Linked DNA regions of Homo sapiens: regions 2, 3, 4 and 5 are each linked to region 1. The links are contacts of gene promoters, found by promoter capture Hi-C in blood cells and fetal thymus (Javierre and others, 2016). All regions are on one chromosome and are shown on one strand. Each heading gives the region's core, a stretch centred on a gene start or on the middle of the fragment in contact. The rest is flanking DNA. Distances are from core to core; before and after follow the strand shown.

Region 1 (2,523 bases), core at 13-2,512:
CAACGTCTCTTGGTTCCTTTGTCCCCAGCAGAGGAGAGGGAAGAGAACTGGGAACTCATTAAGGTAAAGAGCCCCAAACATGCAAGATAAGAAATAAATGACATCCGATCTGCAATCAATCATCAAAGAAAGTCACCATCACTTCATCTTCATCCCTCCCTTCTCCCCTGCAGCTCAAATAACGTGAGTATAGACGAGATGATCAGGATCATATGGACCTGGACAAAGCTTTGTGGAGGCAGCGGGCGGGTAGCAGTTAACTGGCTGCAGCCGGCAAAGAACCCGAGATTCCGGCTGCAGGAGACTCCGACAGAGGTCTGCAAAAGTGCGAGTGGCAGGGGCCGCCCGGCTGTTGAGAATGCGGAGCAGCGGCGGCGGCGGCGGCGCGGTCAAGTCCACAGCGCCCGGGGAAGTTGCTGGCCGAGCGCGACACGCCGCAGAGCGCGGGCCCTCCATGTCACCGTCGCCAGCACAGACCCTCCTGCTCGCCCCTCCCCCGCCGCGCACCCCGGGCGGCGGCGACATGACAGCGGGTCGCGCCGCACAAGGGCGCCCGCCCCCTCCTGGCCCTCTCCCCGGGCTCCCCAGCGGCCGCGGCCGGTTCTCACCTTGGGTGGCGAACGGCGACGAGCCGCTGACCGGCGAGCCGGGGGCAGGGACGGGTGGCGGGGTCTCGGCCGAGCCCAGCATGGGCGCGGGCAGCATGAGGTAGCGCTGGGGCGCGGGCAGGCAGCGCTGGCAGAAAGAGTGCAGGCAGGGCAGCAGCTTGGGCGCCCGGCTCTGGATGTTCTGGTGGCACACGGCGCAAGTGTCCAACAGGTTGAGCCGGGCCGCCTCGCCGCCGCGCTCCGAGTCCGGGCCCTGCCGACTCTCGGCCTCGTTCTCCCCGCTCGGCGCCGCCGAGGGCCCCCCGGAGGCCGCAGCCGAGGCCGCTGCCGCCGCCGCCACCGCCTTCTCCACCGCCACCTCCATTGTCCTGCCCTTGCCGCCGCCGGGGAAGCGAGAGCGCGGTCTCCGCCCGCCGCCCCCGACGACCTCCTCCTCCTCCTGCGGCTGCTCCTCAGAGGCCGCTCGGTGGACTCGCGGCAGCGCCAGCGAGGGAGGGAAAGCAAACCGGGCGGGGGAAGCCTCCTCAGGCCCACGGGATCCGCCTCCCGAGTGGCGCGGCCGGAAGGAGGGTATCTGTCAGCGGAGACCGTTCCTCGCACCGGGGAGGCTGCACCCCGTCCGCTTCGCCAACCGCCGAGGCGCTCGTGGAATACGCCCAGCCCGCCCTTGCCTCCCCGCCTTTCTCTTCATCCCCCTGGCCCACCTCAGGCCCCGCCCCCGCCCCCGCCCTCCCTCTCCCAGCAACTGAGGCTTCGGTGTGGAGCGCGCCGCCCAATAGCGGCCGCGCCTGGCGAGGGGGCGGGACCTGTTGGAGCCCGCGAGGCTCCGTCGGCCGCGGCGGGAGGTTGGGAAGTGGGAGGTGCTTGCCCAGCCCCGCCCCCTCCGGACGCCTGAAATCGCGGCTTCTGATTGGGCCTTTGTGTATGTTTCCTCCTCTGAAAAGATTAAGGGTTCATTTGTTAACGACCATCCGCCTGATTCGGTCCGCGGTGTTAGCTCCTCCTAGGGGGCGGGACCTCACTTGTCTACTCAATGCCGTTAATTAAGTAACTGCTTGGAAAACTGATTTCATTACTGGAGACCTGGTCTTGTAGGAGGAGTAAATATGGTCGGAGGGTCACAGGAGGAAGGAGTGGAGGTACTGAAGAGCAAACAAGGAAATAATTTTTTAAAATACTGTGTGAAAGAGGTACTCTGGAGGCAGCAGGGATATTGCAACCTAATTTTACTCATCTCTAGAATGAATGAGTATGAAGAATAAGGGGGGGAAGTTCTCGTGCAAGTTGGAAATTTTTAAAGGGTTTCCCCAATGAAAAAGGTGAAATTAATTTTTAAAGTCAGTGATTTGCTTTTTAAGTGACTAAAAGTGGTTCGTTTTCCCAGGAATTAATACAGATTGACAAATGTTTTTATTGCATAAATATAGCATCATTAAGCAAAAATAAACCTCAATACTGTTACCCAAATAATTCATAACTTCAGGATTCTTTTGTATTTCCTCCCTCCCTCTTATTTTATTCCCTCCCTCCCTCCCTCACCTCTCTACGCTGATATCAGAAGTTACGCACATTTTTCACTCAAAAAATGGCGCAGCTTTTAAGGAACTTGAAGAATAGAAACGGAATGAAGGAAACAAGATTTTGTAACACGTAACTTTAAGAAGTATTTACCTTTTTTTTTTTTTTTTGTCAATACTAATGAAGCGGTACTGGACTTTAGAGAAAGATGGAGTGGGTCATGAAAGGCTTTGCTAAAATCACAGTTTTCCTGGAGGACTATATGGGATGGCAATGGGGGAGGGCTAGGCAACGTAGCCTTCCTTCAAGACCTTGCCCTTAAACACAACCTCCGTAGGCCTCAAGTGAGAGGTTCTTTTACTTAATCACAAGACATTCAACAGCTCTTCCCGCCTCC
Region 2 (2,523 bases), core at 16-2,515, 610 kb before region 1:
AGCTATATTCAATTTTTTTTCAGCAAACATGTACTCCAATTGCAGTCATACATTAAAGTATATATTAATTTTTATTTTTATTTATTTATTTATTTTTGAGATGGAGTTTCACTCTTATCACCCATGCTGGAGTGCAATGGCGTTATCTTGGCTCACTGCAACCTCCATCTCCTGGGTTCAAGCGATCTTCCTGCCTCAGCCTCCCGAGTAGCTGGGATTACAGGCATGCACCACCACCACACCCAGCTAATTTTTGTATTTTTAGTAGACATGGGGTTTCAACATGTTGGACAGGCTAGTCGTGAACTCCTGACCTCAGGTTATCCGCCCACCTCGGCCTCCCAAAGTGTTGAGATTACAGACGTGAGCCACTGCGCCCGGCCATATATTAATTATTTTTAAGGAACCGCTTGAGACATGTCAGCTGCACTTCCCTCTTTCCTCACCATGAGAGGGGAGGGTGGAACCTTGAGATAGCTTTCTATGTATAAACACATAAAATGTACAGAGACTACTGCTTTGAGCTGGAAAAGAGGGTGAGAGTGAGAACTTAAAGGACTGTATGGATGATGGCATGGTTAATTAGACCAGGGAATGTGTTAATTCACTCAAGCAGTGAAACCACATCTGGTACAGATAGTCACTACTATTCATTCAGAGTCTGGATTTAGATGGACTTAAAGGACTGGAACTAGAAGATCCTAGGCTGACCCATAGTGGGGGCATAGTAATAGGGAGGGAAGTTTAGGTGAGCAGAGCCTCTGTCCTTCTGTCTCAGTGTCCCTTCCTCCCTTTAACTCATAGGATTAAAGAGAGAGAGAAAACAGACCTTAAGCAGGTAATGGAATCAGGGTGATGAGAAACAGAAAATGAAAGCAAGAGATTAAAATGAAGCCAAAAATAATGCATGGGCTGGGTGCGGTGGCTCACTCCTGTAATCCCAGCACTTTGGGAGGCCGAGGTGGGGTGGATCACCTGAAGTCAGGAGTTCGAGACCAGCCCGGCCAACATGGTGAAACCCTGTCTCTACTAAAAATACAAAAAATTAGCTGGGTGTGGTGGCGCGTGCTTGTAATCCCAGCTACTCAGGAGTCTGAGGCAGGAGAATCGCTTGAACCTGCAGGCAGAGGTTGCAGTGAGCCGAGATTGCACCACTGCACTCCAGTCTGGGTGACAAAAGTGAGATTCCAAAAAAAAAAAGATAATGCAGGGACAAAGGAATGGCAGCGTAAGGTTCTACATATTTAGGTTGGTGTAAAATTACTTTTGGGTTGGTGGTAATTACTTTTAATGGCAAAAACTGATTACTTTTGCACGGAACTAATAATTACGAGTCAGTGGGCTATACATTTGGCTCTGAGCTGCCTAACTGCCAAAGCAAACAAAATACTTGGGAGAGGCACTACTCTGTTATGTTAGTGAGGCCTGAGAAAAACACCTCCTATAGTGGGCCACATGGCGGGAACCCTGTGTGCTGTGGTGAGGTCCTCAACCACAAACAGCCCTACCATGAATTCAGCAGCATATTGGTTTCCAAACTGTCTTAGCAGCAGATACATTTTATCAAACCATCTTTCAAAGACTCTAAACGAGCCAACTAGAGTAGAGCAGGGCTGCCCTGGTGGAATAGGATATGGGCTCAGAGCTGTCTCCTGGACCCCTCCTTGTTGCTCTTCTCTCTCCTGTGGTGGCCCATGTAGCATCTCTGTGGAACAGAGTTCTGCTGAAACTCCCGTGTGTGTGAAAACACCTATGATATTAAACTTTGCACAGATTCTTTGTATGCTCAAGCCAAGGATGATGTCAAATAAGCGATTCTGTCAGGCGCCTGTGGAAATAAAATTATAAACCCAAATTAATTAGCCTTGGTTAAAATAAAAATAAGCTATAGGTCTTGATGGTTTTTATGTCAAATAATTGGAATTTTTAGTAAGATATAAAGGGGAAGGGTTGGCAAACAAACATTTGCATTCTAGTTACATCAAGGTTCCAGGAGGCCGGGCGTGGTGGCTCATGTCAGTAATCCCAGCACTTTGGGAGGCCAAGGCGTGTGGATCACCTGAGGTCAGGAGTTCAAAACCAGCCTGGCCAACATGGTGAAACTGTGTCTCTATTAAAAATACACACAGAAAATTAGCTGGGCTTGGTGGCGTGCACCTGTAATTCCAGCCACTTGGGAGGCTGAGGCAGGAAAATTGCTTGAACCAAGGAGGTAGGGGTTGCAGTGACCCGAGACTGTGCCACTACGCTCCAGCCTGGGTGACAGAGTAAGACTCCAAAAAAAAAAAAAAAAGGTTTCAGAAACCAAAAGGAACTATTTGGGGGAAAGATACTGTATTTAAATTTAAATTTACACAAGTTCAATCATGTTCTCTAATAAAACATCAAGAAACTTCCTGAGCTTTTTTTTTTTTGAGACAGAGTTTTGCTCTTGTTACCCAGGCTAGAGTGCAATGTTGTGATCTCGGCTCACTGCAGCCTCTGCCTCCCAGGTTCAAGCAATTCTCCTGCCTCAGCTTCCCC
Region 3 (2,523 bases), core at 16-2,515, 580 kb before region 1:
TCCTTTATATTCTTTCTTTTTTTCTTCTCTCTCTCCTTCCTTTTCTTTCCTTTCCCTTCCTTCCTACCTTTTTCTGTCGCCCAGGCTGGAGTGCAGTAGCACGATCTTGGCTCACTGCAGCCTCTGACCTCTTAGACTCAAGCAATCCTCCCACCTCAGCCTCCTGAGTAGCTGAGACTACAGGCACATGCCACCATGCCTAGCTAATTTTTGCATTTTTAGTAGAGACAGGGTTCTACCATGTTGCCCAGGCTGATCTCAAACTCCTGGACTCAAGTGATTCTCCTGCCTCAGCCTCCCAAAATGCTGGGACTGCAGGCATGAGTCACCGCACCTGGCCTCCTTTATTTTCAACTTTCCATTCTTACTAGCTCTTTCTTTTCTCTTTGTTTTGTTTTTGAGACGGAGTTTCACTCTGTTCTCCAGGCTGGAGTACAGTGGCACGATCTTGGCTCACTGCAAGCTCCGCCTCCTGGGTTCACTCCATTCTCCTGTCTCTGCCTCCCGGGTAGCTGGGACTACAGGCGCCCGCCACCACGCCTGGCTAATTTTTTGTACTTTTAGTAGAGATGGGGTTTCACCATGTTAGCCAGGATGGTCTCGAACTCCTGACCTCGTGGTCTGCCCGCCTCGGCCTCCCAAAGTGCTGGGATTACAGGCGTGAGCCACCGCGCCCGGTCTTACTGGCTCTTTCTACTCAGCATGTAACTATGCTTGTCTCTCCTATAATAAAATACCTTTCTCAGTCTTGTGTCTTCCTCTTATTATCATTACCTTACTTACTTTTAGAAGTAAAGTCCTCGGTTTTTCTATTCTTCTTTTTTTAACCTACAGAAATCTACCTTTTCTCATTATTCCTCTGAAATAAACCTGCCTAGGTTATCACTGTCTACAAGCTTTCCCTTGTAGGAAAGCTCCTCCCTGTAGTATCTCACCATGCTGATCACTTTCTCCTTGAAACTCTCTCCTCTGCGTGTCCATGAATGACTCTCATTTTTCTCTAACCTCTCCTTATCAGTTTATATGTTAGGCTATGTTCTCTCAGGAGCAATCTGACAAGGATTGAATGCACACAGTTTACTTGGGAGGTGATCCTAAGAAACACTGGCAGGGGAATGGGGAGGTAGGGCAAGGAAAGGAAGGAAGACTGTATGGGGAGTGCTAATGAGCAGGTGTGGCTGTGGGCAACTGGGGTTCAGTTCCATTGAGGAAACATTGGGAGACCATGGAATGTACACCTCCAAGTGGTTCCACACGAGGAATGAGTTGGGCTGTTTGATCCATTGTTGGGGAGGAAAAACTTTTCCTGCACTCTCTTATGTTCAGTTCTGAGGGGCTGCAAATTTAACTGACAAGAGAAAAAACATATATGCATATGGCACTGCACAAAAGAAGTGATGATGATTTATTTACCTAACTTAATAGGGGAGAGAGGGGGGCAAAAAGGCTCCTATGGGAAGAACAAAGGGGTTTCTAGGGAACAAACAGGAGATAAGGAAGTTTGTGTTCATAGGGAAGTTGTTTATGCAGGTGCACGTGGTTTTCTATTTCATGTCCATAAACCCCTGGAGAGGGGATGAATGGCAACCTCACTCCCAGAAGATTCTGCTTTTACTGAAATAAAGGAAGCTTCAAGAAGGCTTCTTTTTGCCTCTATTGAATCTTACATGTCTTTAGTTTAAAATAATCCTCATGCCAATTTTAGGGTTGAGAGTGCATCCTCAAACCACCAATTCCCCAACATCCCTGGATGAAGGCTCTTCCTGGAGGTGTTGGCTCCTTGGTAATTCCAGCCTGCCTTTCCTGCTGGCTGCTTCCTCCTTCTGTTGGAAAAAGCTTAGGCAGAGAGTTCAGGAACAAATGCTGAGTGCCAAGGGGACGTAGGCTACTGCCTATTTTTCTCTTCCCCCACTTGCTTATTTAATGTGGGTATTCGCCAAGCTTCTTTCCCCCCGTCCCCCACCTTTTCACACTCTTCATTTTTGCCAGGTGATCTTATCAACTCTCAGTTACCTAATGCTCTGATGTCACGCAAATCTACATCCCTTCCCTTCTCATGTCCCTCAAGGTCTAGACCTGTATACAGAATACACCTGCCTGTTGAGCGTCTTACCTTGGGTTGTCCACTGCAAACTCTCAACATAAATAACACTGGGGTTATAGTCCCTCAAATCCTGTTTATTTTCTGTTATTCCCCACCTCGTCTTGCTTTTCTAGAAATCCATTCTTCTCATTGCTGCCAGGGGTCTTTCTAAAACACCTATCCTACAATATGGCCAGGTACTATTTTAGGTGGTAGGGATACAGCAATGAACAAAACAAGGTTCCTGCTTTCATGAGCCTGAATTCTATAGCTAAATATATAAATACACAATAAAGAAGAAAAATATCAGTGGTAAGTTCCATGCAGACTGGGGAGCTACTTTAGATTTGAGAGGTCAGGAAAGGTTTTGCTGAAGAGAAGACATTAAAGCTCAGAGCTGAATGACACACCTTGAGTGGCACTCAGGAGACATCCACACT
Region 4 (2,523 bases), core at 7-2,506, 540 kb after region 1:
CCTCTGCCTCCTGCTTCCCCTCTCTCCTTCTCCTTCCCACTAGAACTCTTCTCTTTCCCTCTTCCTCCTTTGCCCTTTTCCTCCTAACTTTCCCTTCCTCCCTCCATCCTCCACCTGAACCCCAGGACAACTGAAAAGGGCACACACAGATGTTCTTATCCTATCATTCTATCACAGACTTCAGATGAACTGTGGACCCCTAAAACTGTATACAAAAATGTGGGCTATCTACATTTGTTAATTTTTTGAGAGTTATTATATCATTTCTTAGATTCTCAAAAGAGTTTGTGACCAAAAAAAGTTAAAAATAACTGTTCTAAGATTCCACAGGAATCATCTGTCTCAGGGGGACTTTGTAGACTTCTGAAACACTAGAGCTAAGGAACTTCATGTGGCCCAGCCACCACAGGAGCCAACCCTAGAAATGTAGGTGCAGCCTTCAAAACCCCCAGAAAGACATCCTGCATCCAGCTCAGCCATTTCTCCCTGTGATTAAGGCTGTGAACCAGATGCTAAGCAAGGTTTTCTGTTCTACAAAAAAGGCAACAACAACAAGAAAACACCAAAAAAAAAGGAAGAAGGAAGAAGAAAAAAAACATGTCATGAGGTTAAGAGAGAAACGCAGAAGCATCCCAGCAAAATATTTATGATACTTTTATGCTTTGAGAAACAAAAGCTTGTATTTGAATGACCAAGTCTTGTACCTCACCACATGGAGGTTGTCTTTATGAGTTACTATATTTCAGTCATGTTCCTTTGTGTAATTCAGTTGGGATGCTAGGTATGCATTTGCATTGTCCTTTAATTTTGGTGTTCTTCCTAAAGAAGAAACTAGTGCTGGATGAGGGCTGTTCAGAGAGAACCAGACATGGCCCCTATCCTCTAAGATGATACAAGAACAGAGCTAAAGATTATATAGACTATCAACAGACCTTAGCATAAAATAGGCTAATACAGAAGTGGTCTAATACTACCTTTGCATCACAAATGTAGTCAAGGGTGGAACAAAGGACCGTGACTATGGCTGTCCCAGGTCTACACAGGGTGGGCCAGGAACATGGATAAGAATCATCTTCCTCCTGATGAATTTAGTAGGGCTTTCAGTGGCAAGGGATGGCTGGGTAGGCTGGTTCACTACAGATACCTTAAATTTATGGAGCTGTGTTCTCAGGTGGGAATGAACACAGTAGTCTGTGAGGTAAAGGTGAGCGGATATTGCTGGAGCAAAGTCACATGGGGTAAGTGGGACAGGCTGGAGAAGGGCAAGGACTAGGGTTTTATCTCTGCCTGATGGGAAGCAGGGACTGAGAAACATAGGATCACATTTTTTGGAGCTTAGATGAAACACAGAAGATCTTATGGCTGCCATGCGAGAACAGGGAAGGTGTGCACTGATATAGTTATCCAGGGAGAAGTGGAAAGGTATATAACATGATGGCAAAGAAAAAATGGGTTTTGAAATGATTTGATGAAACCTGCAGCAGGAAAAGCACAGGATCGAATATGCTGAGGAAGGGGCAGAGATGAGTCAGAGATGACTTAGGTTTTTGCTTTGCAGTGTTGAAGAGATCTTGATGTTGACATGGTCCATAGAAGTGAGACTTGAAAATCACAGAAATGAGGTGCATAACGGTGTCTTCATCACATATAGCGTGAGCTGATGACAAGAACATCACTCTGAATCATCGTAGAGTAGCCAGACTCAGGGGTAGAAGAGAAAAGTATGTGTATCTACTGAGTCACTGGGTCCTCTGTCATGCACGGCCAAAGAGAGAACCTGACAGTGATTGGGGAGGACAGGCAGAGGAACAGTTGACCTCTTCCATCTGAAGCTTGGGTTTGTAATACACGCTATTTTGCTATTCCTCCGCTTTTTTGGTGTTACCTTTTACTTTTTTCCAAACAGATAAAAACAATAGTGATGTTTCCCCTTTTTATTTTTTGAAAAAAGTAAAATAATGACTTCTCTGCGTAGCCATTGCAGTGCTAGATTAGTATAAGAAAGCAATGTTCACATTAATCCAGCGATTACAGTTACTTTGGATATTCATACATGAGAGTCATAACTTCTCCATTGAAGAAAAAAGGATGTAGTAAATATTTTCTGTTTCTACTACTATCACCACCTCTTCATGCCATTCAATACTGAAAGTTATTTCAGGGTTAAGATACTCAGGAACGGGCCAGGGGGAGATAGGCCTGTAACTTCCATTGGAGCATGTAGTGGGCTGTAGTTTAATATGATTCTGACACATTTAACTGAATTCTTGCCCCTTTCCCCAGCTTCCAGAGCCTAGCCATTATATTTTTCCTTTAAGAGATTTTTACATAAAAAAATTGTTCAAGATTTGCCAACTCCTTTGAAAATTCTCAAAGGGCAAACAAATGAAATGCTAAAGGATTTAGATGAGGCATATTTATTTAATTTATAAAATTTTCTTTTCACTTTAGATATGTTACATAAATAGTAAATGGATGTACGGTCCGCCCTCCCTGTGCTTGGGTTTTGCATCCTATGAATAC
Region 5 (2,523 bases), core at 10-2,509, 520 kb after region 1:
GTCCTGAGCAGGCCTCAAAGCTCTTGGATTCTGGTAGCACTTAGAGATAGAAGAGGGTTCATTGCCTCAGCTGGTTGAGGTTTATGAGAGGAAGGAACATGCAGGAGCGGACAGCCAATGGCTACTGCGCTCCCAATAACTGCGGTTGCTAACTGGCTGGCCACGATGGAGATAAGAACTCTGTGGATGTCTGGGAAGTCACTTCCGTGTTCATAGCCTGCACATGGTTTTCTTAGCCAGTTTTCATTTACCATAGCACCATCTTGTATCTGGATTAGACTTGTATCGATGAATTCATTTTTATCTTCACTACAGTTTTGAAAGGCAGATTGGATTTCTCATTTTCTAGTGGTGTGGAGAGAACAAGTGATTTGACCCAAGGTTGCTGCTAGGATCTACAGAGCTGATGTAGACTATATGCCTTCTGTCCCATGAGTCCGGTGCATAACACAAGGGTTTCAAAGGCTAAGATCCCCTGGTATGTCTCAACACATGTCATTCCAGAGAGGTGGGGCATACATGTGAGGTCTCACAGAGCAGGAGCCAAAGTGGCTAGAAGCCAGAACCTTCCTGGTCTCCCATTTGCTGACCTGCGGGATTCCCTTAGCTCTTATCTTGGGGTGGAGGGGTACCTCCTGGCAGAGTCATGCCTGAGCATTTAAACAACACAAACAGTACTTTGTACCTCTCAAGCACTTTCCCTTTTCCCCAGTGTGGCCCTCTAGGGATGAGATTATCTCAGTAATGCTTAAGACATATTTGGCTCATAAATAAAGCATAGGTTTCTAGGAAGCATGCATGCCGTTCATTTTTTCCCACAAACTTCATCGCCCGTTAGTGTTTCATACCTGATGTTTTTGGCATTAGATCTTGACTTGGAGGCAGAATTGTTCCATTGCAACATGCACGTTCTGTTCAGAGAATTCTGTGGGGGTCGTCTGTGGAACACTTTTCAGTCACCCATTTGGTGATCTTTATGTCTGGTCACCGTTTCTCTTGTTAGAGAGTCTGTAGTGTAGATTTCAGTTCTCAACTCTTTGATTTCATGTGCCATTTTGGACCTCAGTTTTCTCAAATTAGAGTGACCAGGTCAGGCCAGATGATATCCAGTGTTTCCTCAAGCTTCACTAGTCTGTGATTTGGAGCCTGCTGTAATCCAAAATTTTTCTGGAATGAATGGCAGAGTACCAGATTGTATTCTTTTAGGGTAGGATGCAAGAGTGTAGGAATAGTAAATACCTTAGCTTGTGCCTTCACTGAAAGATATGAGGGAATGTCCTGGGTGTCCCCTGGTGAGGTAAAGACTGAAATGGAGATGGAGAGTGTATACTGTGGGAGAGGGAATGGGGATGCCTTCTGTTTAAGAGAGTGGAAGATACCAGAGAGGAGAAGCTTATGACTGCAGAGAGGGCAAGAGACCTCATTACAGCAGTCTGACCAAAAAACCCTCCAAATTTCCTTATATAATGAGCATGTAAAAGGGTTGAAAACTGCAAATTGAAGGATAAGGGACAGAAGGAGGGATATCAACAACACCAATTAGGAAGAGTATCTAGAGAATTTAACTGGGTAGTAAGAAATTTAAATCTACTTTAACTCTCACTGTGGGGAATTTGGACATAGGCTGAGTTATGTAGGAGGCTCTTAAGTGTGGGAGGGTTAAAAGCAAACATTTTTTGGCCTTGGCTTGTGGGATAGATCAGGCAAAAAGCCCCGCTGGGCCTCCAGCACTCCCATCCAAGATTGCGGGGGTAGAGTCTAGACTCGGGGATAGAAGTGGAGAAAAGGGAGAGGGAAGAATTGGTGGTCCTGATGGCAGCTGCTTTCAGCATCCCAGTCTCTGTGGCTTCCCCACTATGGATGACAAGAACAGAATCACAGGTTCTGTACTGCCTCAGCCTTGAACGGTTGACTTGATCATGGCTTTGATGGTCTTTCACTTGTTGGTGAGATTCAGCTGTCTGTTGTGGCAGAAGGAAGGGGCAAGAGGACTCGGGGATGGTTTGAGTTTCTTGAAGCATATCAGAGGACTTCTCTACCTGATACGGGTATTTCTGGAACAGCTCTGTCTGCTCTAAAAGGATCCTGAGGATTTCCTTCATTGACATGAGGAGATTGCCCTTCTCTCAGGCCCAAGTTACAATTCAAAAAGCATTTTTGGGGAACAATTAGAAATCTGAGCTCCAAGTCCTCTGTGTTAGTGATTGAGAGGCAGCAGGGACTATGCCGAACGTGCCTGGGAAGGGGTCCTGCCCTACTCCAGGCTGCCCCACTGTCTCTACCCTCGGGATAATTCTCCGTCTTGTGAGGATCAGATACAGTCATGGTGTGCAAGTGTTTTGTCATATGTAAATACTATGCATTGAATATGGAAGGTGCTATTATTATTAAATTTTCTTCGCATTATTTTTATTCCTGTTGGTACTTGTTGGATACTCTTGGGCCATGGAAGGACAGGCCCTACTAGGCTAGAGGCTAATTTGGGTTCAGAAAGAATGAAGAAGTGCATTTTGGGGGTATTTG

Evidence for each region. The method cuts DNA at HindIII sites, captures the fragments that hold promoters and counts their contacts. A CHiCAGO score of 5 or more calls a contact.
Region 2: a contact is called between a fragment that was not itself captured here and the fragment with the promoter of TRIM24 in region 1, in 2 of 17 cell types (total CD4 T cells and naive CD4 T cells). The highest score is 6.1, in total CD4 T cells.
Region 3: a fragment that was not itself captured here is called in contact with the fragment with the promoter of TRIM24 in region 1 in 1 of 17 cell types (fetal thymus); the score reaches 5.4 in fetal thymus.
Region 4: a contact is called between a fragment that was not itself captured here and the fragment with the promoter of TRIM24 in region 1, in 2 of 17 cell types (naive B cells and total B cells). The highest score is 6.2, in naive B cells.
Region 5: a fragment that was not itself captured here is called in contact with the fragment with the promoter of TRIM24 in region 1 in 1 of 17 cell types (total B cells); the score reaches 7.6 in total B cells.

The regions. Positions count from the first base shown.
Region 1 is chr7:138,458,998-138,461,520 of GRCh38, reverse strand. It overlaps TRIM24 (tripartite motif containing 24), which reads right to left and starts at 1,262. Exons shown (of 19, transcript NM_015905.3): 1 at 609-1,262. The coding sequence starts at 972. RefSeq lists silencers at 391-870, 901-1,150, 1,211-1,600 and enhancers at 1,111-1,893, 2,297-2,523. The HindIII fragment of the contact is 2,319 bases long and covers 231-2,523 here.
Region 2 is chr7:139,070,874-139,073,396 of GRCh38, reverse strand. The region is part of intron 7 of ZC3HAV1 (zinc finger CCCH-type containing, antiviral 1); the gene reads left to right. Among named protein-coding and RNA genes, the nearest start is that of MIR10399, 28 kb to the right of the region's middle. The HindIII fragment of the contact is 5,327 bases long and covers 1-2,523 here.
Region 3 is chr7:139,037,342-139,039,864 of GRCh38, reverse strand. No RefSeq gene overlaps it. Among named protein-coding and RNA genes, the nearest start is that of ZC3HAV1L, 2.6 kb to the right of the region's middle. The HindIII fragment of the contact is 733 bases long and covers 899-1,631 here.
Region 4 is chr7:137,922,696-137,925,218 of GRCh38, reverse strand. All of the region lies in intron 2 of CREB3L2 (cAMP responsive element binding protein 3 like 2), which reads left to right. Among named protein-coding and RNA genes, the nearest start is that of CREB3L2-AS1, 29 kb to the left of the region's middle. The HindIII fragment of the contact is 1,156 bases long and covers 679-1,834 here.
Region 5 is chr7:137,939,037-137,941,559 of GRCh38, reverse strand. The region is part of intron 1 of CREB3L2 (cAMP responsive element binding protein 3 like 2); the gene reads left to right. Among named protein-coding and RNA genes, the nearest start is that of CREB3L2-AS1, 13 kb to the left of the region's middle. The HindIII fragment of the contact is 270 bases long and covers 1,125-1,394 here.